7 separate regions of the Homo sapiens genome follow, and all the other regions are linked to region 7. The links are contacts of gene promoters, found by promoter capture Hi-C in blood cells and fetal thymus (Javierre and others, 2016). All regions are on one chromosome and are shown on one strand. The core of a region is centred on a gene start or on the middle of the fragment in contact, and the rest is flanking DNA. Distances in the headings are between cores, read along the strand shown.

Region 1 (3,562 bases), core at 766-3,265, 380 kb after region 7:
ATGATTATCTCAATAGATGCAGAAAAAGCCTTTGACAAAATTCAACAACCCTTCATGCTAAAAACTCTCAATAAATTAGGTATTGATGGGACGTATTTCAAAATAATAAGAGCTATCTATGACAAACCCACAGCCAATATCATACTGAATGGGCAAAAACTGGAAGCATTCCTTTTGAAAACTGGCACAAGACAGGGATGCCCTCTCTCACCGCTCCTATTCAACATAGTGTTGGAAGTTCTGGCCAGGGCAATCAGGCAGGAGAAGGAAATAAAGGGTATTCAATTAGGAAAAGAGGAAGTCAAATTGTCCCTGTTTGCAGACGACATGATTGTTTATCTAGAAAACCCCATCGTCTCAGCCCAAAATCTCCTTAAGCTGATAAGCAACTTCAGCAAAGTCTCAGGATACAAAATCAATGTACAAAAATCACAAGCATTCTTATACACCAACAACAGACAAACAGAGAGCCAAATCATGAGTGAACTCCCATTCACAATTGCTTCAAAGAGAATAAAATACCTAGGAATCCAACTTACAAGGGATGTGAAGGACCTCTTCAAGGAGAACTACAAACCACTGCTCAAGGAAATAAAAGAGGACACAAACAAATGGAAGAACATTCCATGCTCATGGGTAGGAAGAATCAATATCGTGAAAATGGCCATACTGCCCAAGGTAATTTACAGATTCAATGCCATCCCCATCAAGCTACCAATGACTTTCTTCACAGAATTGGAAAAAACTACTTTAAAGTTCATATGGAACCAAAAAAGAGCCCGCATCGCCAAGTCAATCCTAAGCCAAAAGAACAAAGCTGGAGGCATCACACTACCTGACTTCAAACTATACTACAAGGCTACAGTAACCAAAACAGCATGGTACTGGTACCAAAACAGAGATATAGATCAATGGAACAGAACAGAGCCCTCAGAAATAATGCCGCATATCTACAACTATCTGATCTTTGACAAACCTGAGAAAAACAAGCAATGGGGAAAGGATTCCCTATTTAATAAATGGTGCTGGGAAAACTGGCTAGCCATATGTAGAAAGCTGAAACTGGATCCCTTCCTTACACCTTATACAAAAATCAATTCAAGATGGATTAAAGATTTAAACGTTAGACCTAAAACCATAAAAACCCTAGAAGAAAACCTAGGCATTACCATTCAGGACATAGGCGTGGGCAAGGACTTCATGTCCAAAACACCAAAAGCAATGGCAACAAAAGCCAAAATTGACAAATGGGATCTAATTAAACTAAAGAGCTTCTGCACAGCAAAAGAAACTACCATCAGAGTGAACAGGCAACCTACAACATGGGAGAAAATTTTTGCAACCTACTCATCTGACAAAGGGCTAATATCCAGAATCTACAATGAACTCAAACAAATTTACAAGAAAAAAACAAACAACCCCATCAAAAAGTGGGCGAAGGACATGAACAGACACTTCTCAAAAGAAGACATTTATGCAGCCAAAAAACACATGAAGAAATGCTCATCATCACTGGCCATCAGAGAAATGCAAATCAAAACCACTATGAGATATCATCTCACACCAGTTAGAATGGCAATCATTAAAAAGTCAGGAAACAACAGGTGCTGGAGAGGATGTGGAGAAATAGGAACACTTTTACACTGTTGGTGGGACTGTAAACTAGTTCAACCATTGTGGAAGTCAGTGTGGCGATTCCTCAGGGATCTAGAACTAGAAATACCATTTGACCCAGCCATCCCATTATTGGGTATATACCCAAAGGACTATAAATCATGCTGCTATAAAGACACATGCACACGTATGTTTATTGCGGCACTATTCACAATAGCAAAGACTTGGAACCAACCCAAATGTCCAACAATGATAGACTGGATTAAGAAAATGTGGCACATATACACCATGGAATACTATGCAGCCATAAAAAATGATGAGTTCATATCCTTTGTAGGGACATGGATGAAATTGGAAACCATCATTCTCAGTAAACTATCGCAAGAACAAAAAACCAAACACCGCATATTCTCACTCATAGGTGGGAATTGAACAATGAGATCACATGGACACAGGAAGGGGAATATCACACTCTGGGGACTGTGGTGGGGTCGGGGGAGGGGGGAGGGATAGCATTGGGAGATATACCTAATGCTAGATGACACATTAGTGGGTGCAGCGCACCAGCATGGCACATGTATACATATGTAACTAACCTGCACAATGTGCACATGTACCCTAAAACTTAGAGTATAATAAAAAAAAAAAAAAAAAATGAGAAAAACCGAAATCATGCACCAGTCGATAAGATGCAATAAAGAATACAGCATCAAAAAAAAAAAATAAAAAAAAATAAAATGCACAATCAAAGCTCACTGCAGCCTAAATCTCCCAGGCGTAAGTGGTCCTCCTACCTCAGCCTCCTGAGTAGCTGGGACTACAGGCATGTACCACCAAACCCAGTTGTTTTTTAATTTTTATTTTTAGTAGAGATGAGGTCTTGCTCTCTTGCCCAGGCTGGTCTCAAACTCCTGAGCTCAAGCAGTCTTTCCATCTCAGACTCCCAAAGTGCTGGGATTACAGGCATGAGCCACTGTGCCCGACCAAATATTCTTCTTTTTATTAGTTGATGTAAAAGTCTAAAAACAAGTTTTGAAATTAACTTGATGCCTTTATTTATGGCAAATGGGCATAAGATCATTTTGACAATTTTTATTTATATTATATATTCTAGGACCTTTCTTATCTATGCTTAATGTAAGTTAAATGGTTGTGAGCCACAGACACAACTGCTTAAAGGGAAAAATGGTTTATTTCTCACATACTCTTTGAATTCCTTTCACATGATTATTTAATATTACATTAGGAGAAATTTTAGGGAAAAAAAGATGCTCATAATTCTACCTGCTCAATGAAACATTTTTAATTTTTTATACATATATAGTGCTATCTCATTTTTATCCATCAAACTTACACATGTGTAAGTATTATTAGGAGTATGCTTGTAGTTTGTATTTTTTGTTTGTTTATGAAACATATATTTTCTCTGTTGCTATAAGTGTTTGTAATTGGTTGTTAATGGCCAATAGTTGAATAAATCAGATTTCACAAAACCTTTTTCCACGGTGGCATATTTGGTTTGCATCACATTTGGCTCTTATGGAAACATCTAAGACTGTCTTGGAAAGTGAAATAATTTCCCCATCACTAGATTACACCGTCCCAGGCTTATTTAGGGTGCGGTACTAGCATTTCTTCATTATCAGGTGGGAAGAACTGGGTCTTCGCAAATCTACTCTTAACATGGTAGTAACTGTCTTTAAAAACACAGTCAACCCTTATTATTCATGGATTTCATATTTGCAAACTCACCTACTTGCTAAAATTAAGTTGCATTCCTAAAATCAACACTTGTGGCACTTTTGCCGTCATTCACAGACGCTCAGAGTGGGCAAAAATGTGGGTGGCCTGACACATATGTTCCAAGCTGAGGTCAAATACAGCAGCAATCTGCCTTCTTGTTCCAACTGTTGTTGTTTTTGTTTGTTTGTTTGTTTTCGAGATGGTG
Region 2 (3,795 bases), core at 94-2,593, 370 kb before region 7:
CTTCCCCATGCAGGCATGGGCCTGCCTTCCCCATGCAGACCACATTACTGGGAGAAATGGAAACAAGAGACTCCCGACTTAGCTACTCCAGGTGCAGCAGAGGGCAGGGTGGGACCCAGGGCTTCACCAAATAAAGTTTGTATGACATCCTGAAGCTGAAGGGTGAGGTGCAGACACCAGCCCCTATCAATTCTGCATCACCCACAGTGCAGGTGGCCTGCTCCTCATCCCACTGTTGATAAAAGCTTAGAGAAACTTTTCTCTTTAGAGTTCAGAGAAAAGGTCTCCTTATCTTGACATTTATGGAGTGAGTTCCCTAATGAAAACTCTAGGTCACTGCTTAAATAAGTACAAACTTATAGCCAACTGGTTTCTTTATGCTGTCACCATCATATCATTTCATCCAGTAAATGTTTTGCTGTGTACCACTAAAATATAAGAAGTCATCTTAAAAAATATAATCATATCGACTGGATAAAGAAAATGTGGTACAAATACACCATGGAATACCATGCAGCCATAAAAAAAGAACAAAATCATGTCCTCTGCAGCAATTTGGATGCAGCTGGAGGCCCTTATCCTAAGTAAATTAAGGCAGGAACAGAAAGCCAGTAGTTCTCATTTCTAAGTGGAAACTAAACATTGGGTACTCATGGACATAAAGAAGCAACAATAGACACTGGGCACTGCTAGAGGTGAGGGGTAGGCAGGGGGTCAAAATTGAAAAAGCAACTATTAGATACCACGCTCAATATCCAGGAAATGGGCCGGGCGCGGTGGCTCACGCCTGTAATCCCAGCACTTTGGGAGGCCGAGGCGGGCGGATCACGAGGTCAGGAGATCGAGACCATCCTGGCTAACACGGTGAAACCCCGTCTCTACTAAAAATACAAAAAATTAGCCGGGCGTGGTGGTGGGCGCCTGTAATCCCAGCTACTCGGGAGGCTGAGGCAGGAGAATGGCATGAACCCAAGAGGCGGAGCTTGCAGTGAGCCGGGATAGCGCCACTGCAGTCCAGCTTGGGCGAAAGAGTGAGACTCCGTCTCAAAAAAAAAAAAAAAAAAAAAAAAAAAAAAAAAATATCCAGGAAATGGGATTATTTGTACCCCAACCTCAGCATCACGCAATATACCCAGGTAACAAATCTGCACATGTACCCCCTGAATGTAAAATAAAAGTTGAAAAAAATACAATCTTAATACTATTACTGTATGTAAAATAATGAGCAACAATTTCCTCAGTATCATCAAATATCCAGTTTATGTTTATATTTCCAATTGTCTCATAAATATCATAATCTTTTTTTAGCGGTTTCTTTAAATTAGGAGCTAAATTACCTATTGCAGTGAGTTGTTTTCAATCTCCTTTAACTGGCAGGTGTCCTCCCCAACTCTCTCCCTTTCTTTCTCTTTGCCTCACACTCCACTGCCCTGACCTCCTTTTCTCCCTATCTCCCCGTCTCCATTCTTTGCAACTCATTTATTCGAGAAGCCAGGTTGTGTTTCCTGCAGGATGGGTACCTTCCTAAACTCTGTGCAAGGAACAAATGAGCAAATGGGCCCCGGTCTTCTGAGCCTGCTTCAGCTGGTGACTTTCTGGGCACTTCCCCTTTTGAGGGTGAGCTAGAGAATAGACAAGCCCACCAAATGAAAATCCCTAGAGCTCTCCCGGGCTGCTGCTATCAAACCAGCAGGGCTGCGTGGATGACGCCTTGTGCTTGGGGTACGATGAGGCCACCCATCCCTGGCTTTCTCAGATGTGGCCGTGTATAGACGCCACTGAGCCATAGGTCTGGTCGGGCTTTTTTCTTTTTTTTTTTGGAGGGAGTCTCACTCTGTAGCCCAGGCTGGAGTGCAGTGGCCTGATCTGGGCTCACTGCATGCTCCGCCTCCCGGGTTCACGCCATTCTCCTGCCTCAGCCTCCCGAGTAGCTGGGACTACCGGCGCCCGCCACCATGCCCGGCTAATTTTTTGTATTTTTAGTAGAGACGGGGTTTCACCGTGTTAGCCAGGATGGTCTCGATCTCCTGACCTCGTGATCTGCCCTCCTTGGCCTCCCAAAGTGCTGGGATCACACGCGTGAGCCACCGCGCCCGGCGGGTCTGGCCATGCTTCTTAGAGTTATGTGGTCAGGAAGAAAGGGAGAGAACCTGTTTATTTGACATTTTTATACACCACTTCATTTGATAACTCAACAATGTTACATAAGAAATAAACAACATAAAACAAAACATAGGCGTATTGTCACACATGTGAAGTAACTAAAGATTCTGTCTCCCTTTTGCTGACTCTCCAGACAGCTGCAGAGGCTTGCACCTCCTACCTCCCTCCTCTCCTGATTTCTATTTGTGAGTCATGGGAAATAACTTACACCGAAGATAACCAGACATTCTGTCCAGGGAGTACTCACACAAGGGCGCAGTTTGATCCACCTTGTCCTGAAAGCTTTTATGCCAGATTTAGGTGAATTTGAAGTAAGCACCAGGCCAGGAGACTTGGACTAGCCCTAGGGAATGAACAATCTTCTTACAGATTTGAGGGCAGGTTAGAATAAATCTGCCCAGAGACAGAAACAGAAGCCACATGTGGGAGGAAATATCGATGGTCAACACTGACAGGGAAGAGGGGTCTACGGTTCAGTTCTCAAGACATGCAAATGAAAGTACGTGGAGGCATTTCATGGTAAATAAAGTTCTAGGGGTAGGATGGCAGGGTCATTTATGCATGGTTGTGCTATTTCATAACAGAACACAAGATGGTACACCATCTGAATGTAAGCAAATTATAAAACATGGCAAGTAAATTGTAGCATTTTGGCTTTAAAATACTATTCAGCTATTTTATATAATTTCAAAAGAACACTTTAACAAGGGAAAGGTGATTTCAAAATAGCATTAGAAGGCAGAACTAATGTTTATATGTACAAAATGTCACATACGACATATAAGCATGTATACATAAAGCTGGTATAAAACTAGAAGTCAAAACTTGTCTGTCGGGCCAATGAGCAAATACTTTCTATATTTAGGCTGACAGTGAGGAAGTAAAACAACATTTGTTGAACCCCTTCTTTGTGTCAGACAATTTTCCAGTGATGCCATTTAATCCCTGCAAACCTATGAGTAGGATTTTACAGTATTTGCTTTCATCCTACAGTGGTTATATATTCTTAATAATAATCACGATAATCATTATCATGGGTTGAATTATGTGCTCCCCAAATTCCTATGTTGATGTCCTAGCCCCTAGTACTTCAGAATGCTACCTTATGTGGCAATGGGTTATTTGCAGATGTAGTTAGTTAAGATGAGGCCCTATCAGAGTAATAGTAGTCATGTAATGCCACTATGTCCTTATAAACAGGGGAGGCTGGGACGCAGACACACACACACAGGGAGAGAGCCATGTGAACATGAGGGCAGAGACTGGGTGATGTGTCTGCAAAGCCAGCAATGGAAAGGTTGCCTGCAAACCACCCGGAGCTGCAGAGAGGCGTGGAACAGTCTTCCTCACAGTCCTCGGAAGGAACCAGCCCTGCCCACACCTTGATCTCAGACTTCCAGCATCGGCACGGTCAGGGTCTGTTGTTTTCGCCCCCAGGGTGTGGTACTTTGTTGCAGCAGCCCCAGGAAGTGAATGCAATAATGATCGCAGAATGGCAGTGAGCGTTTACTGAGGCACCTGCTGTTCTAAGTGCATTAAAGGCACACGGTGCAGGTCATCCTCATGGAGAGCCTGGGCAGAGGCCCTCTCACCCAGTCTAGGGATGTGGAACTCAGGTCTGGGGTGAATTCA
Region 3 (3,661 bases), core at 841-3,340, 310 kb before region 7:
CTTCCAGCAGGCGGCAGTAGGTGGAGATCTCAGCCTCCAGCTTGACCTTGATGTTCAGCAGGGCCTCCTACTCCTGGGCCTGGCGCTGTCCCTCTGCCCGGGTCTGTACCAGCTCTGACTTCAGGTGCAGCAGGATCCCATTGAGCTGCTCCATCTAAAGGGTGTAGGGGGCCTCCACCTCCCTCAGGCTGTTCTCCAAGCTAGCCTTCAGATTTCTTATGGAATCCAGGTTGATCTCCAATGACTGGACTGTATGTCTCAGCTCTGTGAGCATCATCTCAGCAGCTCCAACCTCGGTGGACTGTGTGGTGACCACTGTGGTGCTCTCCTTAATCTGCTGAGACCAGTACTTGTCCAGCTCATCTCAGTTCTTCTGAGCCAGCTCGTCATATTGGGCCTGGATGTCTGCCATGATCTAGTTGAGGTCCTGAGATTTGGGGGCATCTACCTCCATGGTCAACCCAGAGTTGGTAATCTGGGCTTGTAGGCCTTTTATTTCCTCTTTGTGGTTCTTCTTCATGAAGAGCAGCTCCTCCTTGAGAGCCTTGATCTGTCTCCAGCTGCAGCCGAGTGACATTCGTGTCATCAATGACCTTGCAGAGCCCATGGAGGTAGCTCTCTACAGATTGGAGCATGGCCAGCTCTGTCTCATACTTGACTCTAAAGTCATCAGCAGCAAGATGGGCATTGTCAATCTGCAGAACGATGTGGGCATTGTCCACAGTATTTGCAAAGATCTGAGCCCTCAGGTCCTCTATGGTCTTGAAGTAATGCCCCCAGTCTCTGACCTGGGGTCCCTTCTTCTCCAATTGCTCACAGATTTTGCTCTCCAGCCTCTGGTTCTTGGTCTCCAGGCTCCTCACTCTGTCCAGGTAGGAGATCAGGTGGTCATTCAGGCTTTGCCTGGTCTCCTTCTTGTTCTGGATGCCTTCCATTCCTGCCAGACTCTCAGCCATCCCCACAGCCAGAGCTCTGGACACCATGCCGCCCCCGAAGCTGGTGGAGTGGGACATGGAGATCAGGGAACCAGAGGCCCCAGCACCTTCATAGACGCTGGCCTTGCTGCTGACCAGCCGGGCACCATAGCTTGGCATCTGGACAGAGCCCAGGGACCAGTAGTTGGTGGAGAAGGTGGAGCGAGTGGTGAAGCTCATGCTGTCCGAGGAGGAGAGCGAGAGGACAGGACTCAGGCTTTGCTGACCATCTTGATTTTACGTTTATATGGAAAAGCAAAAGACCGAGAATAGCCAACTCAACATTGAAAGAGAAGAAAGTCAGAATACTTACACTAACCAACTTCAGGGCTTACTGAAAGCTACAGTAATCAAGATGGTGAGGTATTGATGAAAGAATAAACAAATAGTTCAAAGTAATAGAACAGAGAGCTAAGGTATAGACCCACATTAATATAGTCAATTACTCTTTGATATAGGATCAAAGGGGATGCAATGGAGAAATGTTGTCTTTTCCATAAATGGTGCTGAAACAACTGGACATTTCTGTGTAAAAAAAATGAATCTAGATCAAATCTTACATCCTTCACAAAAATTAATCCAATAGAGCATAGACCTAAATATAAAATGCAGAACTATTAACCTCCCAGCAAATAACAGGAGAAAATCAATGACTTGGATATGGCAATATAACGCCAGAGGCAAAACCCATAAAAAATAATAAGCTTGATTAATTAAAATTAAAAGTTTCTGCTTGGTAAAACACACAGTTAAGAAAATCGGGGGGCAGTTCCAAGATGGCCGAATAGGAACAGCTCCAGTCTACATCTCCCAGCATGAGTGATGCAGAAGATGGGTGATTTCTGCATTTTCAACTGAGGTACTGGGTTCATCTCACTGGGGTTCGTCGGACAGTGGGGGCAGGAGAGTGGGTGCAGCCCACTGAATGTGAGCTGAAGCAGGATGAGGCATCACCTCACCCCGGAAGCACAAGGGGTCAGGGAATTCCTTTTCCTAACAAAGGGAAGGGGTGACAGATGGCACCTGGAAAATAGGGTCACTCCCACCCTAATACTGTGCTTTTCCAATGGTCTTAGCAAATGGCACACCAGGAAATTATATCCCATGCCTGGCTCAGAGGGTCCCATGCCCACAGAGCCTCGCTTATTGCTAGTACAGCAGTCTGAGATTGAACTGCAAGGTGGCAGCGAGGCTGGGGGAGGGGCACCTGCCATTGCTGAGGCTTGAGTAGGTAAACAAAGCTCGAACTGGGTGGAGCCTACCACTGCTCAAGGAGGCCTGCCTGCCTCTGTAGACTCACCACTAGGGGCAGGGCAGAGCCAAACAAAAGGCAACAGAAACCTCTGCAGACTTAAACGTCCCTGTCTGACAGCTTTGAAGAGAGTAGTGGTTCTCCCAGCACAGAGTTTGAGATCTGAGAATGAACAGACTGCCGCAAGTGGGTCCCTGACCTCCGAGTAGCCTAACTGGGAGGGACCCCCCAGTAGGGGCAGACTGATACCTCACATGGCTGGGTACCCCTCTGAGACGAAGCTTCCAGAGGAACAATCAGGCAGGAACATTTGCTGCTCAGCAATATTCGCTGTTGTGCAACCTCCGCTGCTGATACCCAGGCAAACAAGGTCTGGAGTGGACCTCCAGCAAACTCCAACAGACCTGCAGCTGAGGATTCTGACTGTTAGAAGGAAAACTAACAAACAGAAAGGACATCCACACCAAAACCCCATCTGTATGTCACCATCATCAAAGACCAAAGGTAGATAAAACCACAAAGATGGGGAAAAAACAGAGCAGAAAAGCTGAAAATTCTAAAAATCAGAGCATCTCTCCCCTTCAAAAGGAATACAGCTCCTCGCCAGCAATGGGACAAAGCTGGATGGAGAATGACTTTGACGACTTGAGAGAAGAAGGCTTCAGACGATCAAACTCCTCTGAGCTAAAGGAGGAAGTTTGAACCCAATGCAAAGAAGCTAAAAACCTTGAAAAAAGATTAGGCGAATGGCTAACTAGAATAACTAGTGTAGAGAAGTCCTTAAATGACCTGATGGAGCTGAAAACCATGGCATGAGACTACATGAAGAATGCACAAGCTTCAGTAGCCAATTCCATCAACTGGAAGAAAGGGTATCAGAGATGGAAGAACAAATGAATGAAATGAAGTGAGAAGAGAAGTTTAGAGAAAAAGGGTAAAAAGAAATGAACAAAGCCTCCAAGAAATATGGGACTATGTGAAAAGACCAAATCTATGTCTGATTGGTGTACCTGAAAGTGATGGGGAGAATGGAACCAAGTTGGAAAACACTCTGCAGGATATTATCCAGGAGAACTTCTCCAACCTAGCAAGGCAGGCCAACATTCAAATTCCAGAAATACAGAGAACACCACAAAGATACTCCTCGAGAAGAGCACCTCCAAGACACATAATTCTCAGATTCACCAAAGTTGAAATGAAGGAAAAAATGTTAAGGGCAGCCAGAGAGAAAGGTCGGGTTACTCACAAAGGGAAACCCATCAGACTAACAGCGAATCTCTCTGCAGAAACTCTGCAAGCCAGAAGGAAGTGGGGGACAATATTCAACATTCTTAAAGAAAAGAATTTTCAACCCAGAATTTCATGTCCAGCCAAACTAAGCTTCATAAGTGAAGGAGAAATAAAATCCTTTACAGACAAGCAAATGCTGAGAGAT
Region 4 (3,814 bases), core at 450-2,949, 340 kb before region 7:
GCTTTCTGGGTTCACTCCATTCTCCTGCCTCAGCCTCCTGATTAGCTGGGACTACAGGCACTCGCCACCAGGCCCAGCTAATTTTTTTTTTTTTTTTTTTGTATTTTTAGTAGAGACTGGGTTTCACTGTGTTAGCCAGGATGGTCTCAATCTCCTGATCTTGTGATCTGCCCGCCTTGGCCTCCCAAAGTGTTGGGATTACAGGCGTGAGCCACCACGTCCAGCCTTATTTTTTGTTGTTGTTGTTGCTATAACAAAACGCCACAGATTGGGCTATTTATAAAGAAAAGAAATGCATTTCTTACAGTTCTGGAGCCTGGGAAGTCCGATATGAAGGTGTCAGCATCTGAGGAGGGCCTTCTTGCTGAGTCATAACATGGTGAAGATCATTTTATGGTGAGAGGGCAAAAGCATGTGTGTAAGCCTAGGTCTTTCTTCTCTTCCTATAAAACCACCAGTCCTGTCATGGGGACCTGATGACCTAATCTAATCCTCCCAAAGGTCCCACCTCTAATCAACATGTGAATTTGGTGATTGAATTTTCAACATCTGAAATTAGGGAGACACACTCAAACCACAGCTGCTCCTTCTTCTTCTTCTCCTTCTGGTATTCGCATTACACATATATAACCTCTTTTGTAGCTGTTCCATAGTTCTTGGATATTCTGTTTTATTTTTTCTGTCTTTTTCTCTTTGCTTTTCAGTATTGGAAGTTTTTATAGACATATTCTCAAGCTTAGAGATTCTTTCCTCAGCCATGCCCAGTCTACTAATGAGCTTATCAAAGGCATTTGTTATTTCTGTTACAGTGTTTTTGATATTTATAGTTTCTTCTTGATTCTTTCTCAGAATTTCCATCTCTACTCACATTATCCTCTGTTCTTGTATATTGCTTATTTTGTCATTTAGGGCCCTTAGCATACTAATCATAGTTTTAGGAAAATCGCTGGTCTTACAATTTCAACATTTCTGCCACATCTGACTCTGGTTTTGATGTTCACTCAGTGTCTTCAAACTTTGTTTGTTTTTTGCCTTTTAATATTCCTTGTGTTTTCTTCTAGATACTTGAATATGATGTATTGGGTAAAAGGGATGCCTTTAAACAGGCCTTTAATGATGTGGTGGTAAGGTGTGGGGGAAGGGGAAATGTTCTATAGTCCTGTGATTAGTTTTGAGTCTTTCAGAGAGTCTGTGACTCTGGGTTGTAAACTTTGTAAGTGCTTTTCTGTCTCCCCACTTCTTAGGTGGGACATGATGGATAGACAAGTCAGGAATTGTGTACTTCTCTTCTATGTGGAAGGGTAGAGCTGCTGGAGTTGGGAATTTTGCTTCTCCCAGGCAGGGTAGAGTCTGGTAAAACTTAACCTTAGGTTAGGTTCTGGCTAAATAGTTTCTCCTGAGGGCAGATCTTGTTAAAAAGAGCAGAGTGCTCTGGCATATTTAATAATGGTTTCTATTTCCCTCCTCCTGCCAGAAGCATGAAGAAATTTTTCTCCCATTTTTGTTGTGAAGCATGCTGGGCTCCTGGAGGTAAAACTCACAAAAGTGTTGAGGTTTCCCTCTAACTGCACTCTCCCAGCCTGTTTTCATCTTGCTGGCTTGGCCACGCTGAACCTCCAGCAATTTGTCAGTTATGGGTCAGGTCTTCCTACCACAGCATGGGTTCCCACAGAGGTGTCTGCTTTGAGTTTCTTCTATGCTAAGTTGTGATTCGCTGTACCACCATCTTTACACTTTTAAAGGCAGCAGTTTACCTTGTGACCTTACTTTTCTGAAGAGTCTATAAAAAGTTATTGATTTTGTAGTTTGTTCAGCTTCTCACTTGTTGTGAGGACAGAGCGACAGCTTCCAAGCTCCTTACATGCTGGACTGGGAAGTGGGAGTCAGCATTGTTTTAAGTTGAGAAAGTCACAGCGCAGAGAGGCTGGCTTGCCTATGGCCACCTGATTAGCAACAGAGATACTTCTGTGAAGCAGGTCTTTAGACATTAGGGTATGAGTAGACTCCATGCCTTCTCTCTAGTTGTTCCTCAGAGATACCACAAAGAAACAGAATATAGGCTTGCATCTTTTGCAAAATGGTTGCAATCCACTTTGAACTGTGATCAGCCATTTGTTGGAAGCTAATTTGCTCTGCTAGTGGCTGTTATTGTGCTTGATATGGGGATGAGAGGGAATGTTTACTGAATGTCCACCATGTGCCAGAGACTGTTAGGACTTTCATGCACTCTATCTCCTTTAATCATCCTCAGGGATTAATGGGCTAGATCCTATTTCAAAGGTGAGGAAAAAGGTTTAGATCAATGGACCAGATACCACTTTAAAGATGAAAAACAGGTTTAGAGGTTAAACAAGGTTAAATGTGGTCACACAGCTTGTAGGAGGTGTTCTTTAGATCTCTGACCCCCAGGGCCCATGCATGGTGTTTGGGGCAGGGTCTGGTGGAAATGTTTTAGGCAAGAAATGAAACCCACTAACCCTGACCCTCACTTCTTTGAATAATAAAGAGAAGTGACTTCTAGATAAGATGACTATATTTGCTATCTATGTTGTATAACAAATTACTCCAAAATTTAGGTGATTAATACAACAAATATTTATTATCTTTGTGGGCCAGGAATCCATTTGTGGCTTAGCTGGGTGTGTCTGATTCAAGGGCTCTCATGAAGCTTCAAATTGTGGGCCAGGGCTGCAGTGTCATCTGAAGGTCTGATGAGTTGGGAGTGGGTGAAGCTCACTCATGTGGCTGTTGGCAGGCTCGGCTCCTTGCCATGTAGGCTCCCTGTACAGGGCTGACTTACTACCTGCTGCCCTGGGGTGAGCAATCCAAGAAAGGGAGGAGAGGGGGCGGGGGGAGGGAGAGAGAGAGAGAGAGAGATCGATCAAGACAGAAGCCACAGTCATTTTTTAAAAAAAATTATCTTTAAGTTCCAGGGTACATGTGGAGGATGTGCAGGTTTGTTACATAGGTAAATGTGTATTATGGTGGTTTACTGCACCTATCAACCCATCACCTAGGTATTAAGCCTAGTATTCATTAGCCACTTTTCCTAATGCTCTCTCTCCCCCAACCCCACCCCACTACAGGCTCCAGTGTGTGTTGTTCCCCTCCCTGTGTCCATGGGTTCTTGTTGTTGAGCTCCCACTTATAAGTGAGAATATGTGGTGTATGGTTTACTGTTCCTGTATTAGCTTGCTGAGGATAATGGCTTCCAGCTCCATTCATGTCTCAGCAAAAGACATGATCTTGTTCCTTTTTATGGCTGCATAGTATTCCATGGTGTATATGTATTACATTTTCTGTATCCAGTCTATCATTGACTGAGTATTTGGGTTGATTCCAGTCTATCATTGACTTTATTCAGTCTATAATTGACTGGGCATTTGGGTTGATTCCATGTTTTATTATTGTGAATAGTGCTGCAATGAACATACGTGTGCATGTATCTTTGTAACAGAATGATTTATATTCCTTTGGGTATATATTCGGAAATAGAATTCTTGGAGCAATTGGTGTTTCTGGTTCTAGATCTTTGAGGAATCACCAGACCGTTTTTTCACAATGGTTGAACTAATTTACATGCCCACCAACAGTGTAAAATTGTTCCTATTTCTACACAACTTTGCTGCCATCTGTTGTTTCTTGACTTTTTAATAATTGCCATTCTGACTGGCATGAGATGGTATCTTACTGTGGCTTTGATTTGCATTTCTTTAATGAGCAATGATATTGAGTTTTTTTTTTTTTAATACGTTTGTTGGTTGCATGAATGTCTTCTTTTGAGAAGTGTCTGTTCATAACCTTTGCCCACTTT
Region 5 (3,496 bases), core at 573-3,072, 330 kb after region 7:
CCCAAAAATAAAATTACAATAGGATGAAAATGATGTGGTAGGCAAAAGTCAGACAGGAAAACATTCCTTTCCTCTATCACTCCTGAGCTGTGATGAACATGTTACAGGAGGCTACTGAGAAATTTGCTTGAGGCTGGATGTAGTGGCTCATGCCTGTAATCCTTGAAGTCTGGGAGGCCAAGGCAGGTGGATAGCTTAAGCCCAGGAGTTAAGAGACCAGCCTGGGCAACATGGTGAAACCTTGTCTCAACAAAAAATGCAAAAAAAAAAAAAAAAATTAGCTGGGGGTGGTGGTGTGCACCTGTAGTCCCAGGTACTTAGGAGTCTCAGGTGGGAGGATCACCTGAACCCAGGAGGTTGAGGGTGCAGTGAGCCGTGATCACACCACAGCACTCCAGCCTGAGTGACAGAGTGAGGATCTGTTTCAAAATATATAAAAACATTTTTTTTTGCTTGATTCTAAACATGAGATGGCAAAAGATGGAAAAACAAAAAGTATAAAGAAAAAAACCCTCATATTTTTAATATATATATATATTTATTATTTATTTATTTATTTTTGAGATGGAGTTTCACTCTTGTTGCCCAGGCTGGAATGCAATGGCGTGATCTTGGCTCACTGCAACCTCCACCTCCTGGGTTCAAGAGATTCTCCTGCCTCAGCCTCCCGAGTAGCTGGTATTACAGGCACACTCCACCATGCCTGGCTAATTTTTGTATTTTTAGTAAAGATGGTGTTTTGCCATGTTGGCCAAGCTGGTCTCAAACTCCTGATCTCAGGTGATCCACCCGCCTTGGCCTCCCAAAGTGCTAGGATTATAGGTGTGAGCCACCGTGCCTGGCCACCTTCCATTTATTTCATGCCACAAATACAGCAAATTCTCACTACTTAGTTTTTATATTTTAAATTATATTTAATTTTTTTTTTCTTTTTTTTTTTGAGACAGAGTCTCGCTCTGTCACCAGGCTGGAGTGCAGTGGTGCAATCTCAGCTCACTGCAACCTCTGCCTCCCGGGTTCAAGCGATTCTCCTGCCTCAGCCTCCCGAGTAGCTGGGACTACAGGCGTGTGCCAGCATGCCTGGCTAATTTTTATATTTTTAGTAGAGACGGGGTTTCACCATGTTGGCGAGGATGGTCTCAATTTCCTGACTCATGATCTGCCTGCCTCGGCCTCCGAAAGTGCCAGGATTACAGGTGTGAGACGCCGTGCCTGGCCTTAACTAATTTTACTTTATACTTATTTATGGGTCAGATTATTTTCAAAAGAAAAAATTAAAACAGCAAATTATAAGAATATAAATGGAATATTTGCTCCTGAACTAGTCTCACAGCTAAATTAGTTTTGAGTGTAAGTCGAATCTCAGCATGGCTAATGGAACTGTTTAATTTGTGTGATATATAAAAGGTGACGTTTGGAAAATACAACTTAAGGTATGCTGGAGTCATGTTCAAATAAATGTTTAGAATTCACATAATGAAAAGGAAAAGAAGTTTCTTTAACTTAAATCTTCAAATAATGTACCATGTCCCAAAAGCATAACTTACTGCTTCAGTGTAAGCTTCACTGTTCTGTTCTTCATGAGCTTCTAGGAGTTTCTGGTAGCATAAAAATATTTTAAAAAACAGTTCTGTAAGATGAAGTCCCATTTCTAAATATATACTTTAAGTATAATACCAATGTTGCCAAATATTGCACAAAACTGAGGAAATACTCATATACAAGTCAAGAGCCAAGTTAGGGATCTAGCTTCTGTAGTAACATTTCTCAGGTGCCTATTTCAGAACACAACTACATGTTTCTGACCTTAATTGCATTTGAACACCTATAATACGAAAGCAGGAAAGTACCAGGGCCCCTCAGTTAGCAGACTTTATAGATTAAAACTTCACTTCATACCCAATCCCACTTAGGTGTTGTCACCTAACAGAACAAAAGCATTTTTCTTCAAAGTTCTAATATTACTTACTTTCAATAATTTACATTCTCTTGAATCAGTAAATGCTGGAAACATTTCCTCATATTTCTCAAGAGCAAGCTGAGAGAGAAAAACCACTCATCAATTTCAGACTTACTAAACAAACAAAGCTTTCAACATTCTATCAGCTTCAAATAAGATCTACCTATATCCTATTAAGTGTTGAAAAAGTATGTAGTTAAACTCAAAAGCAGAATCAACATAGAAAATCTTTCTATTCTGAATTTTCCATTTCAATAAAGAATAATTTCTAAACTACTTTTTTCTGAGTTAGGCTGCTGCTGAGAAGACATTGTAAATGAAAATGAATTCTTAAACACTCACAGACCAGGTATCTGTATCCATCCATTAAATGGAGACGTTCTTAATACAGTCCAGATTCCAAATAAATTACATTTAGCTTCCTGCTCGAAGCTGACAGAAAGAACAGTTTCTCTTACTGGCTTTAGTTCTGCTCTTCCAACTCCAGACACTGGCCATGCCAAGGCTGCCTGTCTTTTTGCCTCTTGGCTCCCAGTGCTCACTGTGCTTTTCAACTTCTTCCCAGTCCTCACTCCAACACCATTTCTGAGCTTGCCTGTTGTTTTGGTTGTTTTTTAAATGGATATTATCCTACTCTTATTGTCTCCTCCCTTAGTTCCTTAATTTCTTTCTTTTTTTTTTTTGAGACGGACTCTTACTCTGTCACCCAGGCTGGAGTGCAGTGGTGCGATCTCAGCTCACTGCAACCTCTGCCTCACAGGTTCAAGTGATTCTCCTGCCTCAGCCTCTCAAGTAGCTGGACTTACAGGCACCCGCCACCACACCCAGCTAATTTTTTTATATTTTTAGTAGAAACGGGGTTTCACCATTTTGACCAGGCTGGTCTCAAACTCCTGACCTCAGGTGCTCCACCCCACTTGGCCTCCCAAAATGCTGGGTTTACAGATGTGAGCCACCACGCCTGGCCCCCTTAATTTCTTTAAAGCAAAACTACTGAAAAAAAAATGGTGGCTACCAGTGAACATATACATATATTTAAGCCTATAGCACTAAATATTCCCAGGCAGTGCCCCCCATTCAAGTACCAGGCTCTACACTGCTTAGCTTCTGAGATCAGACGAGATTGGGTGTGTTCAGGGTGGTATGGCTATAAACTATCAGGTAACTTTTGAGAACAGCTTTGACAGCTGTTAAAAGATTACAACTGGGACACATACCACAGAATAATACTTATTTTTAATGTACCCGTTTATTCTTGGTACTAACATCAAAATGAAATGATACCAAGAACAAGAGAGAATGTGTACGTATTCTTATGGGTGAAATCAGTCAATCAATGCTGAAGAACTCCTTACCTTGGCATTCAACTCGTCTACTATGAAGTGGCAGAGGGCAGCTTTGAAGAAGTAATCCTTTGCACTGTATTTCAACAAAGGATTATCCATTGTGTTTGCCCCAACCTAGGCACAGAACGCAGAGTTAAATTTAAAAGATTTACCCTCTTATATCAGGCAAAGTCATTCTCATCTGTTGTCC
Region 6 (3,853 bases), core at 728-3,227, 360 kb after region 7:
CTGCTTCTGGGAGAAGGCAACTTAGAAGGTGGGGGCAGCTCTATGGAGGTTTGGCAGTGAAAGGAAAGAAGGCAAGTGATGGAAATACGTTCTTGAAACAAAAGAGTATCACAGAATTAGAAGTCACACAAACCTACCCCTCCACAGCACCATTCATTAAAGAAACCGCACTTAACTGTACCTACACAACGCAGCATTTAAACTAAGAAACCCATGAAGTCACACAAACCGCTCATCTCCTATCACAGAAACACATGCTATTGTGTGTCCAAGAAACTCTGTGACTCTCTACACTAAACAGAAAGGAGAAACAGCATCCATATGAAGCTACTACATAAGAAAGAAGATCCTAAGTGAATTAATGCAGGAACAGAAAACCAAATACCGCATGTTTTCACTTATAAGTGGTAGCTAAACACTGGATACCCATGGGCATAAAAATGGCAACCGTAGACACTGGGGACACTAGCGGGGTATGGGGAGAGAAACAGTTGAAAAACTATTGGGTACTATGCTCAGTATCTGGGTGACAGGATCATCTGTACCCTAAACCTCAGTATCACACAATATACCCAGTTAACAAACCTGCATATGTACCCCCTGACTCTAAAATAAAAGTTGTAAAAAAGGAACAAATATTAAAATAAAAATGAGCCATACCAAAAAAGCCCCAAAACAAAAAAGAAACAAGAATTAAAATACGTTCCCTAAAACAATCACAAGGCACAGGAAAACAATTCCATATGACTGAAATATTATTAAACAGATATGAAAGTACATCATAAGCTAGAAATTTAAAAACTCATCATGGAAATACACAAAAAAATAAGATGATGAACTCTTGTTTCAAATTCTAGAAGGATAGAAATAAAAAGACAAAATGATCTCAGAAATAAAATCTCTGTTATAGCATACCTAAGGGGAAAGCAGATTCTACTGACAATAAGGAAAACTATGAAAACAGCCAAGAGAACAAAAATGAAGAGAAAAGGATCTAAGTAAAAGTAATACAGGATGGGCAAAGAGCCAATATCCATGTAATGAGAGTCCCTAAAGAGGGGAAGAAAAAACCCATTTTCACAATCTGAGAAAATTTTCTGGAAACAAAAGGCATGAATCGAAATACTGAACAGGCCTACATGTACTTGGAAAACTGACCCAGAATAGTCTACTGTGAAACATATCCTAGTAAGATGACTAGATTTTATAAATGAAGAACATTTCTGGGCTTCCACATAAAAACTCAAAGTTACTTATAAAACTAAGAAAATCAGGCTAAGACTTCAACAGCAATATACGGAGCAAAACAACAGTGGAACAATGCTTTACCAGAAACTCAAGGGGGAAAAAAGTGTGAGCCAAGGATTATACAACCAGGCCATCCAGCATGCAACCCCCAGTGTAAGCCAGGACCCAAGGGATAACTAAGAGATGACTAGGAAACATAGCTGAAATGACTGGTGGTGTCACTGCATATGTTGTATTGTAGATCTAAGACAAAATGTAAGGACAAGGGTAGAAAAATAATAGGGAAACACTTCTATGTCTGACAAAGTACAAACAGCTTAAAAAAAAAGGGATATTAGAGAACAAGAGATGTAGAACGTGCTCACTGAGAAGCACATAGGTAACAGGAGTTTTCTGGAGTGAACAAAATAATAGGCGCCTAAGTAAGGAAAAGGAGCTAAGGATATTTAAAAACATTTATAGCATAAAGGTAACCAGTAGAACAAAATTACAAACCTTCCTAAATAAAAAAAGAGACATGAAGACAAATAGCAATGAAAATATAATATACAGTAAATATAGTAGTATGACAGTTAAGAACCAATCATATACTCGTCATTTTCAGATCTGCTCAAAAAACAAAACCCAACTTTGTGCTCAGTACAAGAAACACAACTAAAATACCTATTCCGAAAGGCTTAAAATAAAGAGATGGTCAAAAGTATACCAAACAAATCAAGCAGCTCTCATTAGAACTGTCATAACAGCAAATAACCCTGACATCTCCCAAAGGCTTCTCTCAGTCACTTGACTTGTTTACTGCAGACTGGCTGTGACTGCTGCCTCTTTCTCCAAGTGTCATCATTCTCTACTCTGGAATGTAGCACTTATCCGGTATATATACTCTTCTTAATTTCTTACAGAAGGGTAAAAGCCATGGCAGAAGTGCCTTCCACTCATACTTCATCAGTCAAAGTCAGTCACATGGCCACAACTGGCAGCAGAGGGCACAAGGTAACAGACAGCATGTATGATCCTCTTACATAATACAGTCCTAAGGAATGCAAACACAAGCAGTAAGAAAACAGAGATTGCTACCCTGCAATGAAACAAAGTAGAATTTGGGCTCAAAGGCTTTAAATGAAATAAAGAAGTTCACTTCATAATGCTAAAAATATAATTCATAATAATATTAGTTGTGAAAATCTATGTACCAAAAACACAGTAGCCCCCTTTATAAAGCAGAAATTGCAAACGTTAAAAAAGATAGAAATACACTTATAAGAAAGCAGATATTAATATGCCCCCCAAAACAGATCAAGTGAACAGAAAATACAGACATGAAAGACAGAGACAATATAATCAATAACTAGACAAGAGGGATCTCTATCAAAATTTGATAAGAAAATATCCACCTTCTAAAGTATACATGGGAGATTACAATCCCAGCACTTTGGGAGGCCAAGGCAATTGGATCGTTTGAGGTCAGGAGTTTGAGACCAGCCTGGCCAACACGGTGAAACCGTGTCTCTACTAAATATACAAAAATTAGCCAGGTGTGGTGGCGTGTGCCTGTATTCCTAGCTACTGGGGAGGCTGAGGCAGGAGAATCGCTTGAACCTGGGAGGTGGAGGTTGCAGTGAGCCGCACCACTGTACTCCAGCCTGGGCAACAGCGTGAGACTCTGTCTCCAAAAAAATAAAGTGTACATGGGTGCTGGGTGCAGGTGGCTCATGCCTATGATCCCAGCACTCTTTGGGAGGCCAAAGCAGGAGGATTGCTTAGGCCAGGAGTTCGAGACCATCCTGGGAAACACAGCAAGATTCCGTGTCGAAAAAAAAATTTTAAGTAAAGTGTACCTGGACCATTCATGAACACCAACAATATATTAAGTGGCAACGAAAATCTCAGTAAGTTCTCTGATCATAATGAAAAAAAAAAAGTTTAAGTAATAATATACAAAGAAAGGCCATTCTTTCTACCTGGAATAAAACCCTTACAATAAAAGCCTCTTGCAACAAAGGGGAAACAAACTAAGATAAAAACATTATGTAACAGGATCTATAAAATACAACTGAAGCAGTTTTAAGAAAAAAATGTATAGCCATGAATATTTTAATCCATACAAATAAAGCAATGAAAACAGTGAATAAACACCTCCCTAGAAAAATGAACCAGAGGGAAAAACAAAAGAAGCCAAAGAAAGCAATAAAGATAAAAGTATAAGTCAGTAAGACAGAAAACACAAAACCAGTAGAACAAATCAATCAAAATATTGGTTGTTTAGAGAAAAAGAATCAAGGAAAAAAGGGGAAAAACACAAACACAAAAATAAAGTGACAGAAGAAAATTACTAAAACAGAACATTTTTAAAAGTCAGAAAAGACTACTATGCACAATGCAAATACATTTTTTAAAACTTAGATAAAATGAATTATTTCCTAGGAAAACACAATTTACCAAAATTGACCTCAGTAGAGATAGAAAATTTAAACATTACAAACTCCAGAGACAAAAACAAGAAAGTTATCAAAGAAATACCCATCAAAAGCCCCAATGGTTTCACTGTGGTATATTCTTAAATCTTCAAAGACCAGAGTCCAAAAAAAAAAAAAGAAAAACATCC
Region 7 (3,513 bases), core at 115-2,614:
GTGGGGAATGGGCGCGAAGCCCTCGGCGCAGACGCAGAGGTAGCTAGTTTGGTTCAGGGGCTGGCACTGGTACTCGCAGTTGGCTCTGAAGCACGGGTCCACGGGCTCCACACACTCGCCGTCCACCAGGTCGTAGTTAGGGTAGCAGTGGCACTCGAAGCCACCCTGTGTGTTGACACAGCGCTGCGGACACGGACTGGGCTCCAGTATGCAGTCATCCACGTCCTCGCACCGGTGTTGGTCGGCCGCCAGCCGGTAGCCGGTCTCGCACATGCACGAGTAGGAGCCCGGCTGGTCGGGGTTGGGAACGCAGAAGTGCTCGCAGAGGTCGTTGCAGGACTGCGTCGCGGATGCGGTGCAGGAGCGCCCGTCTGCCTGCAGGGCGGCGCCGGCTGGGCACTGGCAGCGGGGAGCCCCAGGGATCGCATTGCACGCGTGCTCGCAGCCGCCGTTCTCCACGCTGCAGTCCCAAGCGCCCGGCGCCTCCCTGGCCCAGTGCCCCTGGACCGCTCCGGGCGGCGCGGTGCACATTAGCTGTAAGCCGAGGGGAGCCACCGCGGCGGAGCTGCCCACCGGCAGCGCCTGGAAGTCCGCTCCGCGGGCCGCGAACGGGGTGCCGTAGGTGATCGAGACGGCGGCAGCCGCGGCGCCGGGCTCCACAGCCAGTGGCCTGCAGGTGGCTGGGAAGTGGAACTCGCAGAGGAAGCCATCGGCCTTCACTTCGCACTGCTGCTCCTCCCAGATCGGCTCGCTGGGCACAGTGGCCTCAGCAGCGGAGACAGCGACGCACAACGGGCCGCAGAGGGGAGCCCCATTGAGGTCGAGCCGTGCCCACCTGCTATAGCTGGTGTTGTTGTCTCCCGTAACCCACTGGAAGCCGCGCAGGGGCCCGAGGCGCTTGGGGTCGCCGCAGCCGGGTGGCAGCTGCAGGCCGATCCAGAGGCGCCGGCGGCCAACGCCGCCGTCGCCGTTCAGTAGCAAGGAAATGACATCGGCAGCCACCGAGGAGCGCACTGTCATTAGGTGGCCCCGCAGTCCGTCGCAGATCTGACTGGCATTGAGGAAGGTCGCGGGGCCCGGGTAGAGCGCGAAGCAGTCGTGCTCGACGCACTGGCTGCCACCCGGCTGCGGCTCTGCGGGTGCGGGGAACCCCAGGCCGGCCAGGGCCAGCGCGCCAAGGACCAGGACCCCAAGCATGTTACCCAGGCGCGCCGCGTGCAGGCGCCGGGGAAAGCGCGGGCACTGCGACAGGGCCGTGCCGGAGCAGAGGGGCACAGGACGCCGATGGCGACAGCCTCTCCTGTCCGTCCCAGCCCAGACACTTCTTGCCGCTGCGCGCAGCCCCTGCGAGGCAGCCTCTGACATGCGGATCGGCCAGGGCTCGAGTTTATAAGTGCCCGGCCCTCCCTCCCTGGACGTTCGGGAAAAGGAAGGAAGTGCCTGGTGGGAAGGGCTGATGCCGCATACTCGGATTGCTGGGTTCTCTGGCCGCCCTTGCGCCCGCCCTCGCGCATGGGATCACCTCGCCGGGATGAGTAAACCCTGCCCTGGCGCAGGGAGGTTCTCGGGCGGGGCCGACAGGGGCAGGCGCCAGGGAAGGCCAGCACCCCTGTAACAAGACGACTGTCCCCGCCCACCACTCGGGCCCCCACGCGTGCAGCCCTCTTTCATCTCTTGGTCCTCCTTTCTTTCTTTTCATACATGTTACAGCCACTTCCAAGGAAAGCCTGGATTGCAAGAGCTCTGGGAACCGGAGACTTCAGAGAAGAGGGCTTTGAATGGGGAGTGGGGGAGGTGGTGCACAGGACCTGCAAGACGCTGGGAGGGGTGATCGGCACCAAGGGCACTTTGGGAGGACCTGCCTAGGACGTGGACTTCCCCGAAGACAGGATCGCAAGGAGAGACAGCTGGATCCTGTCCGCGGCCAAGGTGCCTGGCTCAGGAAACCAGCGGAGCGCGCTTGGCCTCACAGGACAGTGGGTGTGGCTGGGGTGACGGGGCAGGGTGGGGAAGACTGGCCTAACACCAGCGCCCTCTGCCCCATGGCTGGCCAGGGACCCGCGAGTCCCTGGACACGCACTGGCCAACGCCAGACCCCATCTCATCGGGTGGGGAAGTCGCGGGGACACTGTCAGGGCGCCGAAGTCCGGACCCGGCTCAGAGGCGGTGGCAGGTGAATTGCTGCGGCGCCGGGTAGGGGCGGGCGCGTGGGAGCGAGTCAGCCTGGCCAGTTTCGGCCCAGCTTCCGAAGGATGGTGCTTCTTGCACCCCAACAGAGTGGCTGGCAACCCCCCAGGGGAGCGCGCAGGATCCCAGCTGATCCCACCCGGGTCGGCTAAGGAGGTTTCCATTTCGTCCAGAGTCCGAATTGATACCCACGTGCATAGAAACGCCACTTGCTCGGCAAAGGGCACTGAAGAGCCACCGTCCTGTGGATGGGCAGGGTGGGGGGGGGGCTGGAGGAGGACATGGGAATCCGTCACTTTCGACCTCTTCCGGTGGTTCACTTACCGGGAATGCGGAAGAGTGGGTCTCCCCCTCGGGTCGCCCCCATAATGGTGAGAGGCAAACTGTTTAAAAACACCCTTGCCTCTCTCCTCTACTGTCCTCACAACGAGCGCCAGGGGGCGGCGCTGTCGAGCTCTAAACAAAGCCAAGGAAGTTGGAGAAGTTTCGGGCTAAAAAGGGTTAAGGTGTAGGAGCACAGAGTCCTCCTTCTGGGGTTGGAAGCTCCGTTCCCGGGCAGCTCAGCGTGGATTCCGCTGCGTTCACCTCTTGCCTCCAGGGCCCAGTAGATCCTGGGCTTTAAACAAGAACAGAGAGTATGGCGTCTGCCACGTGCGACAGACACGCACCGGTGGGGTGGGCCGGGCTGGACTGGACTGACCTGCAGTGACCAAACGGGTGGGGCGTGGACACTCTGAAAGTGAAAAAGGCAAGCACGACTGTCCCGCCGCACACTCCCCAGCGCCTTGGGGCAGAGAGCCTCCAAACGTCCCGCTGAGTTGAGCTCTTCGCTGGGAAGGCCGCCCCAGCACCCAGGAAACGAAGGAGCTGCTGGACACGGGGGTCTGAAGCTCCCGGAATGCACACAGCTGCGCCTCCCCTGACGCGGACCCCCTGGGAAGAGGAAGGGAAGAGCGGCAGATAGCACAGTAGGGCTTGTCCGGCGGGAGCAGTCAAGCTGTGGCTGCCTAGGCTGAATCAGGGGGTCGTGACTCCGGTGCACAGCCTGCCTACGCGGGACGCAAAAGCAGGGCTGCCTGCGGTGCCGCCATGGGGGTGAGGGTGGAGCTTCAGATAAGGGCAGGAACCTCGTTGGGGCACTGCTGAAAGGTCTCAGAATGTGGGGACAATTCCCAGAGTGAATGAGACAAGAGAGGGGGACAGGATCGGTTACAGAATCAGAAACCAGTGCAAAGTGAAAATGTGGGGTCCATTGTTCAATTACAAGGATTCAAGACTGTGATAGCAAAGTGTTAAACAAGGAATGAGGCCCTGGGGGGGTGATGA

The links. Contacts are between HindIII fragments. The CHiCAGO score rates a contact against its expected background, and 5 or more counts as called.
Region 1: a fragment that was not itself captured here is called in contact with the fragment with the promoter of THBD in region 7 in 1 of 17 cell types (neutrophils); the score reaches 6.2 in neutrophils.
Region 2: a contact is called between a fragment that was not itself captured here and the fragment with the promoter of THBD in region 7, in 2 of 17 cell types (neutrophils and megakaryocytes). The highest score is 6.9, in neutrophils.
Region 3: a fragment that was not itself captured here is called in contact with the fragment with the promoter of THBD in region 7 in 6 of 17 cell types (megakaryocytes, M1 macrophages, M2 macrophages and 3 more); the score reaches 9.9 in megakaryocytes.
Region 4: a contact is called between a fragment that was not itself captured here and the fragment with the promoter of THBD in region 7, in 7 of 17 cell types (endothelial precursors, M0 macrophages, neutrophils and 4 more). The highest score is 14.4, in endothelial precursors.
Region 5: a fragment that was not itself captured here is called in contact with the fragment with the promoter of THBD in region 7 in 5 of 17 cell types (neutrophils, monocytes, M0 macrophages and 2 more); the score reaches 11.9 in neutrophils.
Region 6: a fragment that was not itself captured here is called in contact with the fragment with the promoter of THBD in region 7 in 4 of 17 cell types (neutrophils, monocytes, M0 macrophages and 1 more); the score reaches 9.2 in neutrophils.

The regions. Positions count from the first base shown.
Region 1 is chr20:23,429,877-23,433,438 of GRCh38, forward strand. No RefSeq gene overlaps it. Among named protein-coding and RNA genes, the nearest start is that of CSTL1, 8.0 kb to the right of the region's middle. The HindIII fragment of the contact is 4,256 bases long and covers 1-3,562 here.
Region 2 is chr20:22,673,935-22,677,729 of GRCh38, forward strand. The region is part of intron 2 of LINC01747 (long intergenic non-protein coding RNA 1747); the gene reads right to left. Among named protein-coding and RNA genes, the nearest start is that of LINC01747, 9.5 kb to the right of the region's middle. The HindIII fragment of the contact is 2,200 bases long and covers 244-2,443 here.
Region 3 is chr20:22,732,936-22,736,596 of GRCh38, forward strand. It overlaps the pseudogene KRT18P3. Among named protein-coding and RNA genes, the nearest start is that of LINC01747, 49 kb to the left of the region's middle. RefSeq lists a silencer at 2,184-2,283. The HindIII fragment of the contact is 829 bases long and covers 1,677-2,505 here.
Region 4 is chr20:22,709,891-22,713,704 of GRCh38, forward strand. No RefSeq gene overlaps it. Among named protein-coding and RNA genes, the nearest start is that of LINC01747, 26 kb to the left of the region's middle. The HindIII fragment of the contact is 1,933 bases long and covers 734-2,666 here.
Region 5 is chr20:23,377,898-23,381,393 of GRCh38, forward strand. It overlaps NAPB (NSF attachment protein beta), which reads right to left. Exons shown (of 11, transcript NM_022080.3): 8 at 3,316-3,420; 9 at 1,970-2,038; 10 at 1,548-1,598. It also overlaps the pseudogene RNA5SP479. Among named protein-coding and RNA genes, the nearest start is that of GZF1, 17 kb to the left of the region's middle. The HindIII fragment of the contact is 527 bases long and covers 1,560-2,086 here.
Region 6 is chr20:23,410,072-23,413,924 of GRCh38, forward strand. All of the region lies in intron 1 of NAPB (NSF attachment protein beta), which reads right to left. Among named protein-coding and RNA genes, the nearest start is that of NAPB, 9.5 kb to the right of the region's middle. The HindIII fragment of the contact is 5,372 bases long and covers 1-3,853 here.
Region 7 is chr20:23,048,308-23,051,820 of GRCh38, forward strand. THBD (thrombomodulin) reads right to left here and starts at 1,365. Exons shown (of 1, transcript NM_000361.3): 1 at 1-1,365. The coding sequence starts at 1,197. The HindIII fragment of the contact is 6,749 bases long and covers 1-3,513 here.